Linked DNA regions of Homo sapiens: region 2 is linked to region 1. Evidence: promoter capture Hi-C in 16 types of primary human blood cells and fetal thymus (Javierre and others, 2016). All regions are on one chromosome and are shown on one strand. Each heading gives the region's core, a stretch centred on a gene start or on the middle of the fragment in contact. The rest is flanking DNA. Distances are from core to core; before and after follow the strand shown. Region 1 holds the start of TMEM161B (transmembrane protein 161B). Region 2 holds the start of LOC124901023 (a long non-coding RNA gene).

Region 1 (7,911 bases), core at 3,617-6,116:
GCTAATACATGACCGAATCCATCCTTCAAACTGCGCATGTCAAATTACCACTCAGCTGGCAAAAGGACCTCCAGTATCTCCATCAAAGTCTCTTATACTTGCATTTCTCTCTAGTAGGGGTTTAAGGTCCATCAATTTAACTCTTAACTGCATCCAGTGCTAGAGTAAGGATTTAAAAAAAAAAACAAAACTTAATTGCGGAACTTATTAAAAATGCAATTCTAATATCCAGAATCTACAAGGAACTTAAACAAATTTACAAGAAAAAAACAACACCATCAAAAAGTAGGCGAAGGATATGAACAGACACTTCTCAAAAGAAGACATTTATGTGGCCAACAAACATGAAAAAAAGCTCATCGTCATTGGTCATTAGAGAAATACAAATCAAAACCACAATAAGATACCATCTCATGCCAGTTAGAATGACAATTATTAAAAAAGTCAGCAAACAACAGATGCTGGCGAGGCTGTGGAGAAATAGGAACGCTTTTACACTGCTGGTGGGAGGGTAAATTAGTTCAACCATTGTGGAAGACAGTGTGGTGATTCCTCAAGGATCTAGAACCAGAAATACCATTTGACCCAGCAATCCCATTACTGGGTATATACCCAAAGGACTATAAATCATTCTACTCTAAAGATACATGCACACACACGTATGTTTATTGCAGCACTATTTACAATAGCAAAGACTTGGAACCAACCCAAATACACATCAATGATAGACTGGATCACAAAAATGTGGCACATATACACCATGGAATACTATGCAGCCATAAAAAAGAATGAGTTCATGTCCTTTGCAGGGACATGGATGAAGCTGGAAGTCATCATTCTCAGCAAACTAACACAGGAACAGAAAACCAAACCATGTTCTCACTCATAAGTGGGAGTTAAACAATGAGAACACATGGACACAGAGGGGGTAACATCACACACTGCGGCCTGTCAGGGGGTGGGGGGCAAGGGGAGGGAGAGCATTAGGACAAATACCTAATACATACAGAGTTTAAAACATAGATGATGGGTTGATAAATCCAGCAAAACCACCATGGCACATGTATACCTATGTAACAAACCTGTATGTTCCGTACATGTATCCCAGAACTTAAAGTAAAATTTGAAAAAAAATTTAAAAATACAATTCTAAAACTTTATGCTACCCCAAATTATCAGCGCAGAGAAGTGTTTTTTATCAAGTATCACAGGTGATTCCTATGCAAACTCAAGCTTGAAAACTAGTATATTAACCCACTTTTCAAAACTCAGTTGAAGTCACCTACTACAGCAGTCCCCAACCTTTTTGGCCCCAGGGACTGGTTTCATGGAAGACGATTTTTTCACACATTGTGGAGGCAGTGTGGAGGAAGGATGGTTTCGGGATGAAATTGTTCCACCTCAGATCATCAGGCATTAGATTGTCATTTAAGGGTCACCTAACTCAGGTCCCTCACATGCACAGTTCACAACAGGGTTTGCGCTCCTATGAGAATATAATGCCACCACTGATCTGACAGGAGGTGGACCTCAGGCATTAATACTCACTTGCCCACCACTCACCTCCTGATGTGCAGCCCAGTTCCTAACAGGCCATGGACCAGTACAAGTCCACAGTCCCAGGGGTTGGGAACCTGTGACCTACTACATGACCCAACCTGCTCTCAGTTAGAAATAATTTCTTTCCACTGTACTCTTTGAGCCTATTATATGTGTTTCTCTTATAGCATTTACACACTCTTCCCAACACTCCCCTCCACTCCCCTCAAAAAGAAAACTTTTCATCAAATCCAATTGATTATGGCAAAGGTTTATAACCTCCCCATGGCCTACTCTCCCACACCTGCCCACAAACCATTGTTCAATTACAGCAGTAAGTTACTACAGGATGATACACAGATGCAAGCCGTGATATCTGCAATTCCAGGAGCTAGCTCTAATCTACCTATCTTCCACAAATTAGCTTGAATGGTAGAAAGATTTATATTTGATCAAAGTTGGTCTGTAATTTTCAAAAAGGAAAGTGCAATAGAGCAAATGGCTTTATTCCATTAGTAAATTTCCTATAGACTTGTCTTCACAACAACTTGAAAGCATAAAAATTAAGCGTGAGTTCAGTATTTTCAGTCTGGATCATAATCCTATTCTCCTTCATTCATAATACAAAAACCTTGTTATAGGCACAGGTATCTATTGAGTATCGGTATACATAATGTATGAGAGAATGAGAGCACAGAATTAGTTTATCATTGATTAAAACAAGAATTAAATCAAAACATTCCAAGAGTTGTGTTCCATTCTGGAGCAGTATTTAAGACAGTAGTGAAAGACTTGGCCAAATATACAAAGATTCCAAGTACTATCTATGTGACTTATGAAAAAAATGAAAAAGAGAATGATAAAAGAAATCAAACTTAAGCCAAAATGGCATGGAAACAAAACAGTGGAAATCAGACTAACTTTTATTTAATCTGAAACATGTAACTATCCTCAAAAATGTTGAGTAGTCATGGAATCATAAATTTAAGAAGGTGCTTTAATACCCATCAAGTCCCACTTCTCTTACCCAGGAGGAATTTGGAACTCTTATCAAAATTGAGTGACTTTTCCAAATCCATATAACTAACAATGGGCAGAATCTGGGTCCTCTGGGGTCAATACTAATGTTCTTTTCATAATATCATTAGGCCCCAGCAATGCAAAACAAGTTCTGATTTCAACAAGCTGAATCCTCAATAAATTCAGCCCATGTTCACTTCATTTAATGGTTAAACTCTTCCCTTTGAAAAATTCCAAGCATTAACCACACTTGCATATACAGACATTATCAATTTCATAGCTGGGAAAGATAAAACTCAGCCAAGATAATTAGCTCAGAAATATAAGCACTTCCAGAAGGAAAAGAGCCAACTAGTTAGTTCCAAAATGACATTCAGAAAAACAGCATAAGATTACATTAGTTCCAAACATTAACCATCTCTTTTGAACCGACAGGATAAGCAGGATTCTACTTCTAGTATTCCAAAACACTGAGAACAAGTTCATGTTCAGCTTTTCTGTGACTATGATGAACTTAAGTATTTTAATTATACTTTACCTTCAACTTTTCAGACCAAAAAGTCAAAAATTAATCTTAAATTTAAAAAATGAAAATATGAGTTTTAGTCCAGACTGCCAAACTACTGTTACTTTAGAAAAATCACTGTCAATTTCTAGACCCCAGATTCTTTCTTCTGTAAAAATGGGGATGGAAGAGTGATTACTAGGCTTTGGTTTCTCCCAGTTCTGTTTTCCCTATCCTTGTCTAATTTCACTGATACAAAAGAAAAACAACTTTCTTAATACAAACCATATTATTCACTGAGGCTTAAAAAAAAAAACTTTAAAGAGATAGGTTATCTGGTAAAGTGCACCAGGAACTACATTATTTTGAAGGTCTTTGTTCTACATTCAGCTAAGTTTCTAAAAGTCATTCAAAAGCCAATCACCACACACATTAACTGAATGTTGGCAATATTTGGCCCTGAAAATATAAGACAAACTGAAGCTAAATTCCAGGACAGAAGCCTCTGCAAGTGAGGGTTTGAAATCTTGTATACGGTGAAGAAACTGACAATAATGAACTTCACCAGAGCCCCGTGATCTTGAAAAACAGCAAAGGTTAAGAAACCCCTTGCCCCCGTTTGTGTTCTGAGAAATTGGCTTACTGCAAAGAATCATCTTTCCTGTAGAACTTAGATAAGACTAAGGGTTGATCCATACCCCCCTACCCCTTGTTTACCTATAACAAGGCCATAACTAGACCCTTCTAATTCCCATCCTTTGCTTCGTAAATGACTTGCTGAAGTACCTGTCCCACAGATCAATCGGAACAAAATACTTATTAACCAAACTTTAAGATTCTCTTCTCTCGGGTACCTGAATTTTGTCCTTCCCTCAGTCTGAAACAACATATACAAACCTCTCCTAACAGCTCCTCCTCAGAATACATGGGCTCAGGGTAAAACATTATCTGGTTACTGCCGGATCATACCCATATTTTCATCCCAATTCCTGACATCTTATTTACCCCTACCAACAAAAGACAAACCCTTTCTGCCTAACCTTTAAGGTGCATGCAAATCTTACGGTCATTCTCCCTACTGCAACAGTTCCTTCAACCTTCCTCCACACCCCTGCAATATTCCTTTCGAATAAAGTCTGTCCTTACTAAACTCGGGTTTTTTATTTGACACCCTTTTCAATTATGAAATGGCTAAGTGTAAAGAATAAGGGGACTACCGTTTCTTTAAATGACAGGTGTTGATCTTATACAAGGAGACCCGTTGTGTCCACCTGGAGAGGCTAAAAGCATTTCTAAGATCTGAAGTTCTTGGCCACTGTTCCGCGGATGGAGAAGGGGGCGCAGAAGAGGTGACTGACCCGGCAAGGTCAACTCTGGGATCACCTGGCGCCACAGGCCATACACAGTAAATGGGCCATGAACAGGCAGGCTACCCAGTCCATACTCCCTGACAGATACGCCCCTGCCTCCGGCCCGCTAGTCTCCCAGACAGGTAGGCGTAATGCTGCTTCCTCAGGGGCTCAGACACCCTGAGATAGGTGGTGGGTCCTACCCAGCAGCTCATCCCAACGTCTCAACTCCATTCTGAGCAGAGCACCTGATGGCTCTTTTCACAGTACTGACCTCCCCGCCCTTTTCGCCCCACCGTTGTCACTCCTGCCCTCACAGAAGAACTCACCATGGCGCCTAGGATAGGTCGTGGACCAGACACCCTGGAGTTGCCGGGGCAGTCCCAAACCTCTTACCTCCCGGTCCTTGAGCCGAGAGACTCTCAAACAGCGAAAGAGAGGGTCTTCCGGCTCTGCCGGAAGTTGTGCGCGCGCGGGACAGGAAGTTCCTCCCTTCTCCAGAGCGCCGTCGACCCCACGCCACGCAGAGGTGAAGATACGCAGGACGTCCTCTAAAGCAACTTCCGTGGGTGCCAGGTTGTGGGCTGGGGGCGGTGCTGACCTTGAGAGAGCGGAGGAGGCGCAGGCGCAGCACAGGTACGTGGGCGGGCGGATCGTGGTGGCTGCGCTTGCGAGGACCCTGAGGTAGATTGGGTGGTTTCAACAGGAACGCATCCACTGTCTGAGAGGTGACGGAGGCACACGTTGGTGTGGGGAGCGGGAGGGGAGAGGGAGGGGGGCGGGTGGGGGGCGGGAGGGGGCCAGGGGTGGGAGTGAGGGTGCGCGATGGGAGTCGACTCCAGACCCAGGTGATTTAGAGAGAGTAAAGACCACCTTTGGCCGTCATTTTGTCTCAGCTTAACTGACGCCCTCTTGTTACCCTCTAGTTTTCCTGACTCGGTCCCTTATTAGCATATCCTCATTTCCACAGACCTGTCCGTCTGTTGCTTCTGTTCCCTGCCTTAGTGGGTACCGTAGCTCTACCCTCCTTCCGGGCAATGGAATCTCATAGTGAGAAGTTTCTTCACTATTCACAGGTGGCAATTGAAGCCGGAAGAACATCTACCAAGAGCAGAGAACCCAGGAAGAAAATTCTGCCTCTTTAATACGTTCCAATATGGACGTTTTCCATATAGATACCTATCTATATAGATAGATGCTCTGGGATCTGACGGTCCTGGACACCTGTATGGCTGTGTGCTGTGGTCTTTGCCTAGCCTGCGGTTCACTTTTGCTCTGGCCACCACCTCCCCTCATGTACAAACCGCGTCTCTGCTCTGCCAGTCTTGGCCCCCGTCAGGCAGCGGTTCACTCCCTCACCAGGGAAGTCTAGATAGATAGATATAGATAGATATCGATCGATAGATATAGATATATATATAGATAGATAGATAGGTAGATATATGGATAGATATAGATATTTGGATAGATATGTAGACGTCTATCTATAAATATATCGATATATCGGGGTTCTCAGCCATCCCAAAGAAGCTTGCACAGGGCCAGTTGCTTTATGTCAGGAAAAGGGACACAGACTGAGTGTATGAGGGTTTTTTTTTTCTATAGATGTATAGATATTTATATCAGATGCAAATAAGTGAAACTCTCATACAACTTTTAATTTTGTGTTTTTTCCAAACTCTATTCCATTCAACTTTTTCTGCCTTTTTATTTGATTATAATGAGACATCGTACTGGAGGCAGGCTTGAAATGGATATACAGAGCACTTTCAACCCAGAAATTTGTCTCACGACTTGGGGTCCTTACTTAAGTTGTAGCTGTTAGTAATTTCATCCATGAATTCACTTTGTGCCATAGTGTGATGTTTTGTTATGAAGTTGGAATTGGGAAGGGAAACTAGGAAGTTTTGGGAGAAGTTAAGAAGGTTGAGTAGGCAGGCGTTGTTATAGATATTAAATTTCACCCTGCTTATCAAAGTACCTGGAGCGTATGGTATCCAAGCTGTAAATGGCCCAAAGGAATCGGGGTTCTCAGCCATCCAAAAGAAGCATGCACAGGGCCAGTTATTTTATGTCAGGAAAGGGGACACAGACTGAGTGTATGAGGGTTTTTTTTTTTGTTTTTTTTTTTTAGTTTAAACTTGATTTTGTGAGGGGACGAACAGCGTGACAATTAAAAGAAGATCTGGGAATCGTAAGTACTGACAGAATACCTGGAGGGAAGGTGGGACTGGAGAATAGTTTGTGAAACAGATCCTGCTGAGGATGAATCCAGAACTTCCTGAAGGGTTCCGCTTCTGCTGTGTAGGGACAAGGTTGTAAATAGACAAGCCACAGGCACCTGCAAATGGTAAGTGTGGTAGAGAGGGGCTGGAATTGCCTGTTGGTGTATCTGTGGGAAGCAGCTGCTATCCTTGAGGAAGAAAAGATGGAGAAGGTAAGTGGCTATCAACCTGTCAGAGACAACACATTCTGTGAAGTTGTACTCTTTCATTTCTGACACTGTGGTTCTTAATATCTGTCCTAAACCTGGCAGTCATTGAGGTTCGCAAAGTATCTCCTTCTATGTGACAGTAAAACTGGAATTACTATCAGAATGGAATCCATTCCTGCTAGAGTAAAACCATGAAAAGAAATCGCAGTTTTGATTATCTGCTTATCATTTTTAATAGATCACAGAGTGCAGTGTTCCTTATTTGTTGTATGGCAAGTTGATGAATAACTCTTGATTAATATCTTTTAATGTTCTGTTTCACACAGTTCTCTCAATTACATGTGAAAAATCTGTTATATAAGTAATGCTATTTAATGATTAAAATGGATATATGTTTTAAGGTAGTGCCACCCAGTCTTTTTTTTTTGGTAGAATAATATTATTATCTATTGGTTGCCTGCCTTGAAGTACAGTAATTTCTCTGTTTCCATTATTTAAAATAGGTGAGTGTCTTTGACAAAGATACAAAGAAAGGGGACAGTTATGAAAGGGAAGAAAAGATAGATGGAGATGAAAAGAAATTCAGTAGTTTCAGCAAGGGAATTAGGAGCATAATCTTTGAGAAAAGTCTTGGTTGCTTACCATTCGGGCTTTGTGATGAGTTGAAATGTCCTGAATGAGAACTGTTCTCAAATGCTTTCAAGACCAACAAAAAGTACGATACCCACACTGACCTGGAACTCTTTAAACCATTAAGATATATCACTTTTTCGCAGTTCAGTCCATATTTTTTGCAAAATGTTCTGCTTAGTTTTTCTGCTAAGAAATTACTGTTTCTGAACAAGGTTAAGTGTCGTATGCTTTCATTGTAGTTTTTTTTCCCCTAACATATACTGTTTTCCTAATTAGACTATAAATTCCTCCACAGCTGGGACCTTGTTTTGTTTTCTCGCCTTCCCCATAACAAATATCATTTAAGTGAATGTTGTAAACAGTTACTTCATTTAAATTGCCCTTAAAATGCTTTATGACAAAGACGTTATTTGTAGTAATACCTATAATGG
Region 2 (7,911 bases), core at 3,478-5,977, 400 kb before region 1:
AAGCTGGAGTTTGAATATCTTAGGTGTATGTCACCTCATCTCTGGCTTTGATCTGCTGTAAGAAAGAGAAATATAATTATTAACACATTGTTCTGTGCAGCTGACAGAGCATCTGGTATTTTAGAAATGCTTTTGAGATGCCTTAATTGATTTGAAAGTTGGTTGTAAGTGAGCTTGGAAAAGATGCAACACCTTTGCAGCATTAGTAATTAAGAGAAATCAGAAGTAGGTTTTATCTGCGTTAAGTTGTAGCTGAAAATGAAATATCTAAGGATAATTAAGAAAAAAATTAATTTAAAAAATGATAGCAATAAGGCTCCCCATGAATGATTAGTCAACTCTCCTCCTGATATAGACAACTTAATTACATTTCCTTATTGCAGCGTCACCATCCACCTGACTATGGTGACTGAATTTCCATCATGGACTATTATGCTTGAGTTTCCATTATAAACAGTAATTTTTTTAGGCTTAGAATTTCAGTCATTTCATGTTGATTCAGATTTTAACTCAGCATATGAGCTGTTCATCCAGCTGCCATTATGAAAAAAAAAAGAACATTTTAAGTCTTTCAAGACAGTAATGAATAAAAAATAAAGGTGTACAATTTTCATGTTTCTTTCCTCAATCTCTAGTCTAAAAGAAGTGTGCAAAAGAGTCTGAAAATGTTTCAATACTGGTTTTGATCCAAATGAATGAAAAGTATCGCTCTATTCATTTGAATGAGGAACACTGTCATAACAAATATTTGAAAGGAGATAGGAAGTGTAAGGCCCTTTCAAAAAAGAAGATAAAAACACTTCTAAATACAGTAAGAAATGCTGGGTATGATTTATTTTCCAAAACAGGAATAGTTCCCAATATAATTCTCATTTTATTAATCATTTCCTTGGGCAACTTTGCATTCATTTCTAGAAATTTTAGGAGTAAATTTCAAAAATTCCCACCAAATTGAAAATACTGGAATCTCATATATGTTTCATTGCTTATGTAATCTTTTTCATTGGTAATGTACTTGAGGCACATTTCTGATCTGGTTATTCTTAAGAACTATTTATTTTCTATTATGAAAGCAATGTCACTATCACAGTACTGTTGATCTTGCTTTGTAAGGAATTTACACATTTGTGGCTCAGAAGGAACTATACAGTTGGTCAGCTGTTTGTTGTATATTCATGTATTATCCAAATGATGACATAATGAGGTAATCACTTGATTGTTCTGTGGCCATTGCCTGCCTTCCTTTGTGTGACTGATTTTTTTTAAGAAGTACAAAGTAATAGTCAAAGTGATTTTCTTCTTTCAAGAAAACTTTAGTTTGTAAACTTGCGAAGATTTTTAAAACTGGAAAATCCTCTGGTGTTGACTTAGGTACGCTACATTTTTATGCTGTGAATATATGTATCACTTAAAATATACCCCTTTAAACACGGGAATATTATTAGTCTCATGAAGGCAAACAACACTCAGCAACAATCCTTGAACTATAAAATTTAAAAGTATAAAAACTGAAAAAATTACCTGAAACTAAGGAGTAAATTCTGGTTCCAAATATAACTGTCAGGAAATGTGAAGTGTAGCTTTTGAGAACTCAAAAGATGAAAATCAAGCTAATCTGAAAACATTTGTTGCATTCTATAATATCAAATGAATTGACACATATTCACTAAAAATTCCCCAAATAAAAAATTCAGTTAATCTTTGGAGGGAGAGATTTCTCACCTACTTACCTACCCACCCACCACACTGTTGGTATTTATGCACACATACACACAAATAAGGGTAGTGAAAAAGGATCAGATCAAAATTATGTGAAGTAGCCCGTATAGAATCAGTGATCATCTATACTCAATCTTTGTGAAGTAGATATTTGGAGAGAGTGAGAGAAAGTGACTGGAGGTGGACTCTGCTCTCTAAAAGTCACAATTTTAAAACTCATTAAATAAAGCTCAGAATACTGTACAAGACTGGTATATATTGCAAATGTTCTTTGGTACTCTTATCCTATGTGATAGCAAATAGCCATGCTTCTCATAGACCGTGACTATCTCTTTCATTCAACCACATTCATTGAGTACTTACTCTTTTTAAAAGACCAGATATGTACAGATGTATAAAAGAGGCTCTTTAACCTCATGTCACTTGGAGTCCAAAAACTGGTTAGGATGAAAGGAGAGGTTTTTCAAAGGCAAAATTCCCCTGACACTTAGAGGTGGAGGTTCTTTAACCTGAATGATATATAATTCATAGTTTCTCCCACGGGGAAAAAAATAAACAGCAAATAAGGAAAAACTTTTTGAAATATTGTGGCACCTTTATCACTATTAAACATGTGATAATTCTAGAATAATCTGATACAGAGGTGGAAATTAAGCTTGCTGACATTTGTCTAAAAGAATTGCCTGAATGAAGGTGGGGAAGGTAAAGGAAATGATAAATCTGATGAAAAAGTAATAGACTCTATTCTTCAACCAAATGTGAATCATTTATCTGTCACACACTTTTTTCAAGTAAACCTCCTAATTAGCATGAATAATTAGAAACAGGATTTGCATATTTTCTTTCAAAGAACAAATTGTGGCTTACCATCTTGATATCCCAACAAAGTATATCTAACCTAACTATTAAAATATTGTGAAGATTTCTATAAATAAAAACATTTACTACGGTCAGATTTTCAAAGTCAAAATAAAGTGACTGTCTAGTGTGTTTGAGGATATTTGGAGGGTTCTATTTGGCTGCCTACAATTCAATTCAGTATAAATTTGCTAAGAATTTTGGACTCATAAAACACAAAAAAATGCTAAAATCATTCTTCCCTAACAATTATTTGCCAGGTTTATACAGATGACTTCCTCAACTTTCCTTTGCACCAGTTTTTCATAAATATGGTGATCATCCTCTAATTCCAGTATTCACATAAGTTGTTCTCTTTGCATATATCACATTTCAATATTAAAATTCAACTGTTTATTAAAGAAAGAGCAACCAAGCCAGGTGCAGTGGCTCACACCTGTAATCCCAGCACTCTGGGAGGCTGAGGTGGGTGGATCACCTGAGGTCAGAGGTTCAAGACTAGCCTGACCAACATGGTGAAACCCTGTCTCTACTAAAAATACAAAAATTAGCTGGGTGTGGTGGTGCACACCTGTAATCCCAGCTACTTGGGAGGCTGAGGCATGAGAATCTCTTGAACCTAGGTGGCAGAGGTTGCAGTGAGCTGTGATCACGCCATTGCACTCCAGCCTGGGTGACAGATTGAGACTCTTTCAAAAAAAGAAAGAAAGAAAGAGCAAATTTCAGAAAGTGATTTAAAAATAAATGATTGACCGCCCCCCCCACCCCCACACACACACTACATTAATATTTGGTATACGTTATATTGCTTGAAAGAAGATAATATGATATTTTTTATTTTCCCTCTATTTTAATGACAGTTTCTTTCTGCTCTCTTTAGGGAAGAGAAAAACTCAAGTTATTTCTCTACAGAAGAAACCTAAATGGTAAGTGTGATACTGAACTGATAAACTGAAGTTGCCAAAGTGGTTAGTAAATGAAAGGAAGGAGAAGCAAAGGAAAGTCTTAGCTTCTAACTCTGTTCCATGCTAAACTAGCATACTCACCTATCAGCACACCAGATATAAGCCAAACCTTTGAGGTGAGATATAATTCCCTTCATGATCTCAGATGAGGAAGCTGAGATTCAAAAAGATCAAAATCTGGCCAAAGACACATGGCTAAAAGGAGGATTAAAACCCTGAATAAACCTTGACTAGAATCCACCAAACCATAGTCTGAAGGAAACTGATTCTGAATCAGAGAGTTTGGAAATTAAAGTTGAATAACCATCATAAAAAGATGCAATTTTGGTTTCAACAAAGACATTTGGCTGAAGACAGCAAACAACCAAGGGTCTGCTCAAGAATCTTTGAAGTTAATTTCTAGAAAAAAACAAAAAACAAACAAACAAAAAAAAAACAGAGTCTTATACATATTTTGCCATTCATGGTTTTCCCATTTCTGCCATACATCAACTGTGAATATAGGAATGGTTTCAAAGCCTACCTCAAAGTGGTCCTAATTTAAAGATAGATTGATTGGTCTGGCTCCTTGGCTTATTTACAGGGTTCTACTGTTATCTGATGAAGTCAGGTTCACTAAAGATTTGTGAAAAATGAACTGCTTTTACAGTGCGAATCCCTTACCTCACCTTTCTCCACCCCAAATCCAAAGGTTTCTTTGGGTCTGTCTCCAGGTAGCCTACATATACCTGAACCATAAACTCCCACCAGTTCTATCTCTGGGAACCAACATCAACAAGGAAGTATCACTAGATTGTCTAGAAAATTCTGTAGAAAAAGAGGGCCAGAGAAAGGAGCTGACTAGGTCTTTATCATAAAACATTCTAGTGAGGATAATAAATGACAGACATATACTTGGGATCAAGGTTAGAGTTATCTAGCTGGCTTAAAGGCTCTGGGTTTTATTTAATGCAGGAAAACATCAACATTTCCCAAGAGGAGAGGCATTTATTTTAAGTGTTATTCAGGTGTATTTTTGCAAAATTCCCCTTTCTATGGTGCAACTATCATATACATATTTAAATAACAGACTGTTAACCTTTTAAACTTGTGTGGTCCTTTTACATATAGGTGAAGTAATTACAAAGTTACAAATAATATTATCATGTATCTGTCGAGTTTATGTGGGTTTCCCTCGAAGAAGGAAAGATTCCATTTATTAATCTGGAATCAATCCCCTTCTTTCTACTCAGGGTTTGTGGTAATGCCCAGTGATGAATGTCATAGCTGGCATCTTAGATAAAATGTTCTTTCTGAACAACACCCAAATATGCTTAAAATTGCAGATGACAGTTGTAAGCCTTTTTGCCTGCTTATCTGTCTGCCTTCGATGTGACCCTAAATTAGGCATCAGAAGGTGTAGAGTTTAATACAGATTCCGGGCACAATATACCTTCTCACAATTAGTTGAAAGTGCTGTTTTGTAATTAAAGGGTGAAGTGGGGCATGATGAACATATGGAAAAGGAGACCCTTAATAAGTGATGGAGCCTTCAAAAGAAATTGCTAATTAGTATGCATTTGATGTGCACTATACCAATTTTAAGACTTTGCCTTGAATAAATTGCTATGTTGGGTGTTCGAAGGAGTGGTGAGATTAGCATTTACAAAGGGGGCAATTTTCTGTCTTCTTGACTCTGTTAAATGGAGGAAATAACTTCCAAGACTGGAGCAGTAGTTAGCCCATCAATCATTCTCACAGCTGGAAACTGGGGATCCCAAATGCAGAGATCAGTTAATCCGTCAGCTAATAAGTTCATAGTGGCACCATATGGCGCAGGGCCACTCCACACTGGGACAAGGACAGAACTGTTTACACAGGCATGCTGCTTTCTCAGGTAGCTCCCTGCTGACAGAATCCTTTGTTCTGAAGGATCAATTTACTTTGCACAGTAAATTGACTGAATTGATCAGTTCAGAGCATATAATTGTTGGCTAATCCTGTGGAATCATGTCCCATCCATGTGAGAGGGACAAAAGGGTGCTGCCCATGGCCTGGTCTGGGGCTCCATCCTGGGGCTATTCTCGTCGGATAGGTTGGACACTGATTAAAGGACCAGTGGACAGTAGATGTGTTGTCAGCATTGACTTCAAACGCTAAAGGGAAGAGAAACCTTGCAATGCCCAGAAGGGTTTTCTGGGTGTCTTTACTCAACTGGTATCATGACTTAACTTGGAATAGAAACAGTCAGTCAAGGCAATTTAGGTGCAAATTCTTTTCAAATACATGCCTGGAAGAATGAAAAGTACTGCTCCATCTCCAAATCTAACAAGTTATTCCACTAATGCTTATTTCGAAACTTACCTTCTATTTCTTTTCAAAAAAAGGAAAGGAAGACAAAAAAAAGTTTAAGAGATATGTTCAGAAAAGTGTGGAAACTGCAATTTAAGTGAGAAACACATTTCTTAGGCATGTGCAAAAGTGGCTGAGGTATCCACTGTCATGCCTGTGTATGGGGTATGGGAAAATGCATCAGGGCTTTTGAGAGCAAATTAGAGCAAAGTCTTCTCATCCCTGCACATTAGTGTGAACCCTTGTGCTTTGTTCCATAGATGTGTTTGATCTGACTTTGTTTTTTCCTTCTCACATAAAAAATAAAAGAAGAATATATAAAATGAAAAAATTCCACCAATAGAGATAAATGTTGGACATAGCTCCCTTCAACTAAAGGTTTTCTTCAAAAGTTAGTGTCAATAGAATCATTTCACATCAATGGCTTGAAAAGAGAATTGTATTCAATAGGAACTGCAGCCATTTGGAGTTGCTGAGAGGACATTTGCTTATTAAATGTCTGAACAGTAATGAACTTTATACAACTACCCCAAGAGTTTCACCAATTAGACGGCTACTAATTTCTTCACTTATTTTACTGAGAATAAATGTCTGAGATCAGTGTCATAAGGAGAAATTACAGCAAGTTTTTGGTTTGACAGAATTTGGAATCTTAGTGATTATCCCAGTTTTTCTCTTTTCTATAAAGAGGTATGTGCTTGATGATACTTAAGCCAATAGAGAGGGGCATACCATTTAATGGTAGTTGGTATGTTTTATCATAAAAATCTAAAATTAATAATTAAAAAATATTATCAATATATCTTCCAATACTTTTATGTGTCTTAATTTTTTTCCTCTTATGGAATTTTTAATTTCCCTATTACTATATACACAGTATACAGGATTCCACAGCATTAAAAAGCAGCAAAACCAATAACCAATAAGTATTTGTATATTTTATTTTAGGAACTACCATAGTGAGAATGAGATAAAATATAAATAATTCTGTAGAAATACTTTTAAGTTAAACTTGGGAAATTAAAAAAAAAAAAGCGGAAACATAAATTGTATAATGAAAACATCATAAGTGGAATCTAATGTGAAAGCAGGCACTTTGCCAAACAACCCTTTTTAGGGAGCAAAAGCTCTTTGTAATTTTTTGGTACAGTTTTCCCTTTCAAATGTTATCAAATTGGATTCTCCCACTCCATAGATAGCATATGAGACAAGCTTTAACTCTTTCTGAAACATTCATTTGCTAATTTTCCCTTTATTTAAGTAAAATTCACCCAAGTGCATATCCTAAAGTTGACATGAGTTCCCACACTCTAAATCACCAAGATCAAATCCATTTCCTTGCTCTGTTCTGAATCTGGCCAAATCTCCGCCTCCCTCCTATCTCAGCGTTTACCATACTGCAGAGGTAATGTCAAAGTTCTTGCATTCTAAACTAAAAGACAAAACTCATAGCCATTGAAACATATGTATTTTGCATGTTCATGGTATGCTACATAGTTGGAATTGGGTAAAATTTCATACATTTAATAACTTTTAATTTAATGACTTTTTCAATATAAGTAGTAGGTTTGGAGAGGTTGTACATTACATCTCACCAAAATATCATCAAGAAGTTTTCACCCATTTCTTTATTTTACATGTACTCATATTCTTCCTATTATAGATTCTCTATAATAGTTTCACTCACAATATTTGGGATTTTTCATTAATCAGAAAATAAATAATGTGCCTCACAGTTAGTGGTGATATATTCCAACTTTCAAGACTAATTTAAATTCATTATCCCAAAATCTTTACATAAAATCTTCAACATGTGTAACCTTTTTATTTTTTAAATTTGCAAAAAATTAGGACCCAAGGAAAAATATATGCTTTCTTCTCTCCTTTGTTACTGCTGACCTTCTCCTCCCTGGGCCTTTCTCAGCAAAGACAAAGGAAACTTCTCTCCTGTCTCATTATTCAACGTCCCTTTGCAGACTCTCTCTTAAATGCATCATTAGATGTGTTTTCTTTCTTCTGTAGTCTCAGACTAAATAAA

What was found. The method cuts DNA at HindIII sites, captures the fragments that hold promoters and counts their contacts. A CHiCAGO score of 5 or more calls a contact.
Region 2: a contact is called between a fragment that was not itself captured here and the fragment with the promoter of TMEM161B in region 1, in 1 of 17 cell types (neutrophils). The highest score is 5.0, in neutrophils.

What each region holds. Positions count from the first base shown.
Region 1 is chr5:88,263,979-88,271,889 of GRCh38, forward strand. It overlaps TMEM161B (transmembrane protein 161B), which reads right to left and starts at 4,867. Exons shown (of 12, transcript NM_153354.5): 1 at 4,743-4,867. The coding sequence starts at 4,745. TMEM161B-DT (TMEM161B divergent transcript) reads left to right here and starts at 4,904. Exons shown (of 3, transcript NR_039995.1): 1 at 4,904-5,049; 2 at 6,548-6,607. RefSeq lists enhancers at 4,654-5,153, 4,844-5,033. The HindIII fragment of the contact is 4,710 bases long and covers 1,232-5,941 here.
Region 2 is chr5:87,867,825-87,875,735 of GRCh38, forward strand. LOC124901023 (a long non-coding RNA gene) reads right to left here and starts at 328. Exons shown (of 2, transcript XR_007058862.1): 1 at 1-328. RefSeq lists an enhancer at 4,773-5,792. The HindIII fragment of the contact is 4,711 bases long and covers 2,373-7,083 here.